Regions from separate parts of the Homo sapiens genome. Here regions 1 and 2 are each linked to region 3. Evidence: promoter capture Hi-C in human tissues and cell types (Jung and others, 2019). All regions are on one chromosome and are shown on one strand. Each heading gives the region's core, a stretch centred on a gene start or on the middle of the fragment in contact. The rest is flanking DNA. Distances are from core to core; before and after follow the strand shown. Region 1 overlaps RSPO2 (R-spondin 2). Region 2 overlaps RSPO2 (R-spondin 2). Region 3 holds the start of RSPO2 (R-spondin 2).

Region 1 (3,234 bases), core at 359-2,858, 140 kb before region 3:
ATGTCATACATGACTAAGCTTTGGGAAATAAAATAACTTGTCATTCAACCCGTAAGTAGTCAAGACCGGCCATATACCAAATTTAAAACCCCATTTAAATTTCCCGATTCTGTTTTTTCCAACATACAAAGACATCCACCATCACTGAAGGTAAAAAATAAAAGCTAGATGATTATTTGTCAAAGATGTCCAAGTGTGTGCTGTAGGTAAGGTTGGAGAGAAGGCAGCAGGAAGAGCTGTAAGCAGAACCGGTCAAGGGATTAGAATTCAGAGGAATGAATACAAAATACATTGCTTCTCACTTCATGCCACAAACTGCAAACTGATTAGCTACATGGTTTTCTCCTGAACACAGCATTTAACTCAGAATCCTTTTCAACCCAATGTTCCAGGACACTGCTTTTGCTAGTCAGCGGCATGTTAGATAAAACCATGTTAGATTATACAATTGAAATTGAACTTTGTAGGAACATTTTCATCCTTGACCTGAATATTTGATTTGTGTACTTTAAATTTTCAGAGTACTCCAAGCTGGCTAGTACAGGAAACTCATTATAAGGTTAACATGGCAAGCTAGAAAATAGGAAATACTACATCCAAGGATCTTGGTAAATGGCAGATGAAAGTAGTAGTTAGAAACAAATATAGTTCACTTAGGGTGAAAGCAAATTGTGCCTAGATTTCAAAAAAAGAAAAAGAAAAAACTGTACAAATACAAACTAGAGAATGGCCTGGCTTAGAAAGTTGGCAAAAAGAGATACAGGGGCCACAGTGGACCACAAGCCAAGGCAAAATCCTCCACTCTTTAGAAAAGCAAACAACAGGAAAACACGTAAACATCAGAACCCGTAAGTATTCTCTGCTAATTCTCTCATCAGACTCAGACTCTGTTTAATGCTCTGCCCTAAATCAGGGATGTACAGTTGATCCTCTTCCTAACACTTTAGCAACACCATTTCAGTCACTTCCATCTTCAGTCAGCTTTCTACTGAAACACCTTCACACTCAAATGTCTCATAGCTCTCCACAGTACACAAGGTAAAATTCAAACTCCTTGTCTTCTCCATGGACACACTTCAGTCAGGCTGCAACTTATATTTTTTTCTGTGAGCTTCTGTGACTGCCATTCACAAATTCTGCGTTTCGGCCAGGTTCATTTGCTTCACCTCCCTTGGGTGCATGAGGCACATTCTGGTGTATCTTTCCTCACAGTGTTCTGTCTAAAATGATCTCCCTTTTTAAACATGGTTTCTACCCACTCCTCCTAATATAAGTTATCCTCTTCAGGAACTATTCCTATTCCCTGGCAATGGCAGCTAAAAACAATACCTTTTGTTCTATAGTATCAGAGCCTGTAACAATGTCATCTTTACCTGACACTCAATAATTTAAAAATTAAGCTTTGCCTTTTATCTTTAATGTGCATTTTCTTATTCCGTAACCTGGCTATAAACTCTCTTGTTTGTATCACTCTCTCCTCCCAATCTTCCCATTTCTTTAGAACATAGGAAGTAATGGATGCTTAATTGATTCAATGGACCTAAAGACACGGCAATAGAAAAATGACAGATTGCTTAAATCCCAGCTCCAACACTGGATTATCTTGGGGAAGTAGGTTGAAAGAGAAATTGGAAGGCATCCTGTAACATATTTTTTAAAAGTCAATGCAATTCGGTAAACATTTACTCAAAATCTCCTTGGTTCTCTCATAACAAATAGCTTTGACACAGATTAAGATAATCAAAGGCCAGCCTTGGAGAGGAAACAACAAAAAATTGCAAAAGGTTATCTAAAAATATGAGTGCAGGCCTTGAGATAATCACCAGAAATAACTCTGCACCTAAATATGCAACTCCTGACCTTATTTAAGAATATCTTAAGGCCGAGGCAGGCAGATCACAAGGTCAGGAGATCAAGACCATCCTGGCTAACACGGTGAAACCCTATCTCTACTGAAAATACAAAAAAATTAGCTGGGCGTGGTGGCGGGTGCCTGTGGTCCCAGCTACTCAGGAGGCTGAGGCAGGAGAATGGCATGAACCTGGGAGGCAGAGCTTGCAGTGAGCCAATATCACACCACTGTGCTCTAGCCTGGGCAACAGAGCAAGACTCCATCTCAAAAAAAAAATAAATAAATAAATAAATAAAAATCTATTTAGAAAATACATATTTATTGACAAGTTTGAAGAGTAACTGCCCCCTGCAATATAATAGGTCTGCACCTTTTTTTTTTTTTTTGGTTCAAATTTTATTGCATATTAGAAACACCTGGGGAGGTTTTTCCCCCTAATAGTTTTTGGGGAACAGGTGGTTTTTGGTTACATGAAATAAGTTATTTAGTGGTGATTTCTGAGATTTTGGGGCACCTGTCACCCAAGAAGTGTACACTGTACTCAATGTGTAGTCTTTTATCCCTCACCCCCTTCCCCCCAAGTCCCCAAAGTTCATTATTTCATTTGTATGCCTTTGTGTCCCCAGAGCTTAGCTCCTACTTATAAGTGAGAACACACAATATCTGGTTTTTTGTTTCTGAGTTACTTCACTTGGAATAATGGTCTCTAACTCCACCCAGGTTGCTGCAAATGCCATTATTTCATTCCTTTTTTGTGGCGGAGTGGTATTCCATGGTGTATATCCACATTTTCTTTATCCACTCTTTGATGGGTATCTAGGTTGGTTCCATATTTTTACAATTTCGAATTGTACTGCTATAAACGTAGATCTACATATTTCCTGCATTCACTAGATACCATGAAGTTCCAAAGGCATTCAATATTCACCAAAATAGCCTACTGGGTGATTACAGCAAAAAACAACTGATAAGTCAAAACATTTTGATTCCATGGAACTGGAGGCCATTATCCTAAGTGAAATATCTCAGAAACAGAAAACTCTTATGTTCTCACTTGTAAGTAGGAGAGAAATAAGAGGTAGACATGGACTTAGAGTATGGAATAATAGAAACTGGAGACTCAGAATTTGGGAAGTTGAGAGGAGGCTAAGGAATAGGAAATTACTTAATGAATACAATGTACATTATTTGGGCGATGGTTACACTAAAAGCCTAACCTTCACCATTATGCAATACACCAACCAACCTGCACTTGTACCCTTTAAATTTATATGATTTTTTTAAAGTCCTGAATCAGTATTACTCATGCCACTATTGAGTCAAGTTCATAGTCACACCTTCAGCCTTCATCCAAGGATAAACGCCAAGCTGCTTTCTACCTT
Region 2 (3,772 bases), core at 1,215-3,714, 160 kb before region 3:
TACATATGTATACATGGGCCATATTGGTGTGCTGCACCCATTAACTCATCATTTACGTTAGGTATTTCTCCTAATGCTATCCCTCCCCCCTCCTCCCACCCCACATCAGGCCCCGGTGTGTGATGTTCCCCTTCCTGTGTCCATGTGTTCTCATTGTTCAATTCCCACCTATGAGTGAGAACATGTGGTGTTTGGTTTTTTGTCCTTGCAATAGTTTGCTGAGAATGATGGTTTCCAGCTTCATCCATGTCCCTGCAAAGGACATGAACTCATCCTTTCTTATGGCTGCATAGTATTCCATGGTGCATATGTGCCACATTTTCTTAATCCAGTCTATCATTGTTGGACATCTGGGTTGGTTCCAAGTCCTTGCTATTGTGAGTAGTGCCACAATAAACATATGTGTGCATGTGTCTTTATAGCAGCATGATTTATATTCCTTTGGGTATATACCTAGTAATGAGATGGCTGGGTCAAATAGTATTTCTAGTTCTAGATCCCTGAGGAATCACCACACTGTCTTCCACAATGGTTGAACTAGTTTACAGTCCCACCAACAATGTAAAAGTGTTCCTATTTCTCCACATCCTCTCCAGCACCTGTTGTTTCCTGACTTTTTAATGACTGCCATTCTAAATGGTGTGAGATGGTATCTCATTGTGGTTTTGATTTGCATTTCTCTGATGGCCAGTGATGGTGAGCATTTTTTCATGTGTTTTTTGGCTGCATAAATGTCTTCTTTTGAGAAGTGTCTGTTCATATCATTCACCCACTTCTTGATGGGGTTGTTTTTTTCTTGTAAATTTGTTTGAGTTCTTTGTAGATTCTGGATATTAGCCCTTTGTCATATGAGTAGATTGCAAAAATTTTCTCCTATTCTGTAGGTTGCCTGTTCACTCTGATGGTAGTTTCTTTTGCTGTGCAGAAGCTCTTTAGTTTAATTAGATCCCATTTGTCAATTTTGGCTTTTGTTGCCATTGCTTTCGGTGTTTTAGACATGAAGTCCTTGCCCATGCCTATGTCCAGAATAGTATTGCCTAGGTTTTCTTCTAGGGTTTTTATGGTTTTAGGTCTAACGTTTAAGTCTTTAATCCATCTTAACTTTTATATAAGGTGTAAGAAGGGATCCAGTTTCAGCTTTCTATATATGGCTAGCCAGTTTTCCCATCACCATTTATTAAATAGGGAATCCTTTCCCCATTGCTTGTTTTTCTCAGGTTTGTCAAAGATCAGTTAGTTGTAGATACGTGGTATTAGTTCTGAGGGCTCTGTTCTGTTCCATTGGTCAATATCTCTATTTTGGTACCAGTACCATGCTGTTTTGGTTACTGTAGCCTTGTAGTATAGTTTGAAGTCAGGTAGCATGATGCCTCCAGCTTTGTTCTTTTGGCTTAGGATTGACTTAGCAATGCGAGCTCTTTTTTGGTTCCATATGAACTTTAAAGTAGTTTTTTCCAATTCTGTGAAGAAAGTCATTGGTAGCTTGATGGGGATGGCATTGAATCTATAAATTACCTTGGGCAGTATGGCCATTTTCACGATATTGATTCTTCCTATCCATGAGCATGGAATGTTCTTCCATTTGTTTGTGTCCTCTTTTATTTCATTGAGCAGTGGTTTATAGTTCTCCTTGAAGAGGTCCTTCACATCCCTTGTAAGTTGGATTCCTAGGTATTTTATTCTCTTTGAAGCAATTGTGAATGGGAGTTCACTCATGATTTTGCTCTGTGTTTGTCTGTTATTGGTGTATAAGAATGCTTGTGATTTTTGTACATTGATTTTGTATCCTGAGACTTTGCTGAAGTTGCTTATCAGCTTCAGGAGATTTTGGGCTGAGAAGATGGGGTTTTCTAGATATACAATCATGTCATCTGCAAACAGGGACAATTTGACTTCCTCTTTTCCTAATTGAATACCCTTTATTTCTTTCTCCTGCCTGATTGCCCTGGCCAGAACTTCCAACACTATGTTGGATAGGAGTGGTGAGAGAGGGCATCCCTGTCTTGTGCCAGTTTTCAAAGGGAATGCTTCCAGTTTTTGCCCATTCAGTATGATATTGGCTGTGGGTTTGTCATAAATAGCTCTTATTATTTTGAGATACGTCCCATCAATACCTAATTTATTGAGAGTTTTTAGCATGAAGGGCTACTGAATTTTGTCAAAGGCCTTTTCTGCATCTATTGAGATAATCATGTGGTTTTTGTCTTTGGTTCCGTTTATATGCTGGATTACATTTATTGGTTTGCATATGTTGAACCAGCCTTGCATCCCAGGGATGAATCCCACTTGATCATGGTGGATAAGCTTTTTGATGTACTGCTGGATTCGGTTTTCCAGTATTTTATTGAGGATTTTTGTATCGATGTTCATCAGAGGCCAGTGATCATTAATCCTATGTTCAAATACTCTGTATTACAGATGTGCAACTAAGGTTTATATAATGGAGAGCAACTCACATGTCCAATTCTGTTTTGTTTACACCAATGGTAACTAGCAAATTCTAAAATTCCTAACTAATCAGAAATATTAAATATAGACCAAAAAAATCACTGTGCAGGTAAAGACCTAGAGGGCTCATCTGCTCTATATATATGCCTTAAAATATGTATACCTGCATTTATCCTGGAAAAAGTATTTTAGAGACCCATGAGAATACTTAAGTATTCTTAATAACCTTAAGTGCTAAGGATCTCTTGATTATTTGAACTCTGAACCCCCTTCTGTCGTTACTTCAGTAGTTTCTGAGAGAGAAAAATAGCCACCAGGTTCCATATAATCTCTACATTCCTTAAACCTTATTAGATCATCCTTTACCCTTTTAAAAAATACATAGTTAACAGATGTACTGCTTAGCTGACAAAGTTTGAATAATTAGCTTTTTATATAAACACATACTGCCTATTCTTCTTTTGAAATGTCATTTTTATTTTAAACAAAAGACTAAAAATTTAATCTTGCCAAAGTATTCCAGATTACACTGTAAAGACTTCTCCAACACTGTGCTTCTAAGCCTAACCTTTTGATTCCCTTTAGTAAAGGCACTTAGATTACATAAAAGTAACAGAACTAGGAGAAATGCCATTCCAAATTTTGATGTATGGAATGTTTAAAAGTGGTGAGTTCCTAAAGTGGATGCTTTCCAACAATCATCTTAATTCAGGAGAGCAATATAACAGACAAGTTTAGAACATGCTCTTTGGAGACTGAGCCTTGGTTTCAGCCTCAGCTCTGCCACTGTAACTTATCCAAAGCTTCATAGCGGGTATCTTCTCTAGGGCTTCAGTTTCTCATCTGTGAAGTGTGAGAAATAGTAGTTCCTATGAGATAAAGTTGGCGTTATGATTAAATAAGGAAATTAAGTAAAAGTTTAGTCCGGTTCATGGCGTATTGTGAGCATCAGTACATGTTAGTGGTGGTGGTGATGGTAGTTGGTGGTGATAATAACAATGACAGTGACAGAGAATGTCAATGAGACCAGAAGATCAAGAATAGATTTTCTTAGCCTTCCTTAAACCAACCATATAAATCAATCTAACTCAGAGCCAAATCACAAGAAAGGCTGGACCGCATGCCCTGACACTGTTGCAAGGCCAATGCCACGGCTGCTGCCACAGCTCAGTCACACCATGGACTGTGAGTTGTCTGACTGGTAGTAGACGTCTCTCTTCCTACCTCTGATGGATGGTAATGGCTGCTTTGGATGGGATCCATTTTACATCCTCTGACTTAAACAGCTTTGCAAAAGTAATTTTTCATTGTTTTGAGAGGATAA
Region 3 (3,751 bases), core at 93-2,592:
CGCACGACTTAGCCCTGAGCGCCCGATTGGCGCCCGGCTCGCCGAGCTCCCAGCGCGTCTCGCTCCGGCTCCCCGCGCCTCCAGGGTACAGAAAACAGAGTGTTTTGTAGAGCTCCAGGGTCCTAAAGGTGGGGACTGGGGACCCGCAAAAGCTGGGGTGGAGAGCACAGCCCTGACCATCTGAGCCCCCGGAGCCAGGGCGTGAGTGAGCGCCTCCACACGCCACCCCTGAAGCCCACCACGCACCTTTGGCAGAGAGGGACCCACCTCGCTTACTGCGTCTCCATCGGTTGCCTTGGCAGTGGCTGTAATCCATGCAGTTCAGAATGATGAGGGCAAAGGAGAAAAGGCGAAACTGCATCTGGGCGGTCGGGCGGGGGAGAGACGCCTCTCAAAGTCTAGGAACTGGAGGGTTCGCCCAAAGAGCCGGCGCCGGCCGCGCTGCTGGGGAGGACTCAGAGGGAGACTCGCCACTCACCCCCGGGCCGCACCGGTCAGTTCAGCGCGATCAGCATCTCTCCGCCACGAACCTGAGAGACAAGAAGCGAAAACAGGGTGTGTGGGGGATGGAGAGAGCCCCGGGGAGGCAGCTGCGCCTTCGCACGTCCCAATTTAAAGAAGAGAGGGAAGGAGGAAGCGAACCCACTGCCTAGCACGAGCCGCGGAGCGGCTTAATCCAGAGCGGGCAGCTGCGGACGAGTTGGAGAGGAAGGTGATTATAATCAGTGAATTAGCAACCTCTGCCGAGCCCTAAGCTCCGACCCAGCGGCATAATGCGTTGTGCCGGCGCTCCGGGGAAAGGAAAGAACTCTAAAGGCACTGAGAGCGCAGGGCTAAAAGAACGCTCTTAGGCCATTTGGAGTCCACGGCGGTGTACCCAAGCGCCGCAGCTGCGGCTGCCTTGGTGTGGGTTGCCTACCGTGCGCACGTCTCGGGCGGCGCGGCCTCCCTAGGCGCGGTGCTCCATCCCGGGCTCGGGAAGCGAGCCGCTTGGTTAGCACGTGGGCTGGGGAAAAGTTTGCCGAGACCGGCTGGGAGCGCCTGGCAGCTCTGGAATTCCAGCGGCCGCCGCGGGGTTGGCGACGCCAGGCAGGAGCGCGGAGCGGCGGGTGCAGCCACTGGGATGCTCCGTCCCCGCCCGCGAGCGCGGTCCCCAGGCAAGGGGTGCGCCCGCTCACACTCTCTGCCTCCCTAACCAATTGTGTCGCTTCCTGCGCTTTCTCCACGGTCACTTCACAGCTAAGATTTCTTTCTTTCCGAGCTGTAGAAGGCAGAACGCTCTCGGGAGGACGAAGTGATCCGAAGGGATGTGGCAAGCGCACTTTCCGATGGAGATGCAGACCGGCTGAGGCTTGGGATGCTTCTATAAGTAGGTGGTGCTGTGGTCCAAGGCATCTAAGTCTAGGCTGCCTCGGAGTTCCTGGGTCCTAAAGCCAGAAACGTCCCGGTTTCCCTGAGGTCCTAAAGAACGTTGACAGCCAACAGCGCGCCTAACTTGGAGCGAATCCTCTTCGGGCTTTCCAGAGTGCGGGGGATAGATAAAGAGTAGCTGGGGAGACGCCCCCTGACCTTGCTGGGTCCCAGAACCCGGCTGCTCACCCCCAAGGGGTCCTCTCCAGCCCTCTAGGGTCAGTTCCAACCTCAGCGCCAACCTTTCTGCAGGGAGATCTGACTGAAGGACTGATGACTCCCTTTAAACTTTTGCAATATGCCACAACTCTGCCACTTTTTAATTTACATCTTGTCTGTGTTTTGCAGGAAGGTATGTTAGCCGGCTGAAATTATTCATAAAACGCGCCCCCACTTTGAGGAGTGAAATGGGTATTCCCAACAGCTTTTGTTCATCCTCAGAACTGTTATTTACTTTGTTTCTTCTCCAATAAAACAAAAACCTGTGATCCGTTGCCTGAAGTGCTGAAGAAGTTGGGGCCTTGATTCTTTAAAAATAATTTTAAAAAGTTCACTTCCCACTAAAGTATTTTTCATTCTTAATCCTCCTCTCATTTCCAAAGTCTCCTGAATTAAACTTTTAGGTGCTTTGGGTTTGGGGAAAATATTCTGTTTAACAAAGTGTTACATTAAATAGACTTGATGCCATCCAATTTCATTCTGGTGAAATCTGTCCTGCATTCACTACTGTAGGAAAAAATGTATTTATTCCTTAAGCAAAAGATAAGAATTTATGCCACTAACCGTGGCAGTATGAATGTCTATAGATATGCCCGCAGTTACCATATTATTATGATAGCATTTTATACTATTTAAATTCCCTTTTCTATTCCTTCAGTTTCAGAAGATGTTCAGAAATTTGATGACTTAAAAGACAATCATATAAAAAGAATATTGCAATACTCATATTTATTAACTATTCCATTATTGCCTATTCATAACTATTTTACAGACTCACTATTACATAGTGGTATTTATGTGCTAAGAATTTCAGCAGTATGCCTTTGATGCATGCCTGAGAACACCCAAGTAAATCTGAGTTGAGGTCATTGGTCCCATTTCATAGATAAGAAAATCCATCACTGAGACTGGCCCACAGGGCACAAATAGAGTTCACAAAACACATTGCAGAAACAGTGGATCTGTTTCTTGACTTTTGAGCCTTTGATTTTTATCACAGAATTTGGAAACATTTCAGTGTAGGGAGTGGCCCCAGTGTTTGGCATAACTTGATATTTCTTGATCATCTTGATATGATGCTGAATATCTCTTCAGCACCATAAATACTACTTCTTTCCAAATATAGTCATATATGCACACAACAAATGAATTATACTTATAAAGGAGTTAAATCTATGGGAGAAAGGAAGTCTTCCCTAAGTAAGCCCCCCTGCCTCCTTGCAAAGCTTTGAGATCCATTCAAGATCAGTGGTCATCAGTGTCTTTTAAAATATTTAAAGGCAAAAGTAAACACAAGACCAAGCAGAGGTAGCGCTACCATTAATCACCTGCGTCACTTTGGGCAATTTTCTTGGTCTCAGTTTCCTTGGCAGTATTTTTAGGAAGTCTGTCCAAGGTCTCTTTCACTTCTACATGTTCTGGTTTACAATCAATTTTCTATTTGTACTAGGAAGTTTGCTATGGTATCTAACCAGTGTAAGGGCAAACTCATCAGTGATGGGTTCTTTGTGTAGAAAGAAGAGGGTTAGCCACTGCCTTCCTTAGTTAAATTTACAGACCACTTCACCCTTATCCCTTCAAAGACAACTTTCCATAATTTTAATTTTAATCTTTTGTGTTGTACAGTTGGTGCATTTTTAGCCAGAGATGCTTTTCAGTTTAGTGAACCCCCAGATTCAGTTCATGAGGAAGAATTTTGACAGTACCACTTCTGTAGAAAATTGGTTAATGTGTTTAGTAAGAAAAGAATAGGCTCTGGAAGAAAGGAAAATTCTTAATTCCTTCTTTTGCTCCCTCCTGGTCTATCTCTGCCTCTTAAAAGACACCAGTGAACCTTAAAACTCTGTCAGACTTAGTTCTTGGGGTACTTGGAGTCTCACACTTAATCACTTTGGGGCTAATTTGTTGATAATGCAGAATTTTTTTTTTTTACATTCACTGAATATTTTTCCTGACTTCAAAATCCCAGGAATGTTCTTGCTACTAAAAAATACAACCCTAATGGATCCTAGACTATCATTAACTTTAATCCCATATCTCTGCTTCCTTTCATTTCTAAACTCAGAATGTGGTGTTGTTGAGGCTCACAGCTCACAGTTTCTCCATCTTGGAGACTCAATGG

What was found. Contacts are between HindIII fragments. The study calls those that stand out against the background at their distance.
Region 1: a fragment that was not itself captured here is called in contact with the fragment with the promoter of RSPO2 in region 3 in 4 of the 25 tissues and cell types used here (IMR-90 fibroblasts, dorsolateral prefrontal cortex, mesenchymal stem cells and 1 more).
Region 2: a contact is called between a fragment that was not itself captured here and the fragment with the promoter of RSPO2 in region 3, in 2 of the 25 tissues and cell types used here (dorsolateral prefrontal cortex and neural progenitor cells).

What each region holds. Positions count from the first base shown.
Region 1 is chr8:107,946,742-107,949,975 of GRCh38, forward strand. The region is part of intron 5 of RSPO2 (R-spondin 2); the gene reads right to left. Among named protein-coding and RNA genes, the nearest start is that of RSPO2, 140 kb to the right of the region's middle. The HindIII fragment of the contact is 5,256 bases long and covers 1-3,234 here.
Region 2 is chr8:107,925,465-107,929,236 of GRCh38, forward strand. The region is part of intron 5 of RSPO2 (R-spondin 2); the gene reads right to left. Among named protein-coding and RNA genes, the nearest start is that of RSPO2, 160 kb to the right of the region's middle. The HindIII fragment of the contact is 3,185 bases long and covers 873-3,772 here.
Region 3 is chr8:108,082,278-108,086,028 of GRCh38, forward strand. It overlaps RSPO2 (R-spondin 2), which reads right to left and starts at 1,343. Exons shown (of 6, transcript NM_178565.5): 1 at 920-1,343; 2 at 268-530. The coding sequence starts at 361. RefSeq lists an enhancer at 1-482 and a silencer at 199-374. The HindIII fragment of the contact is 6,606 bases long and covers 1-3,751 here.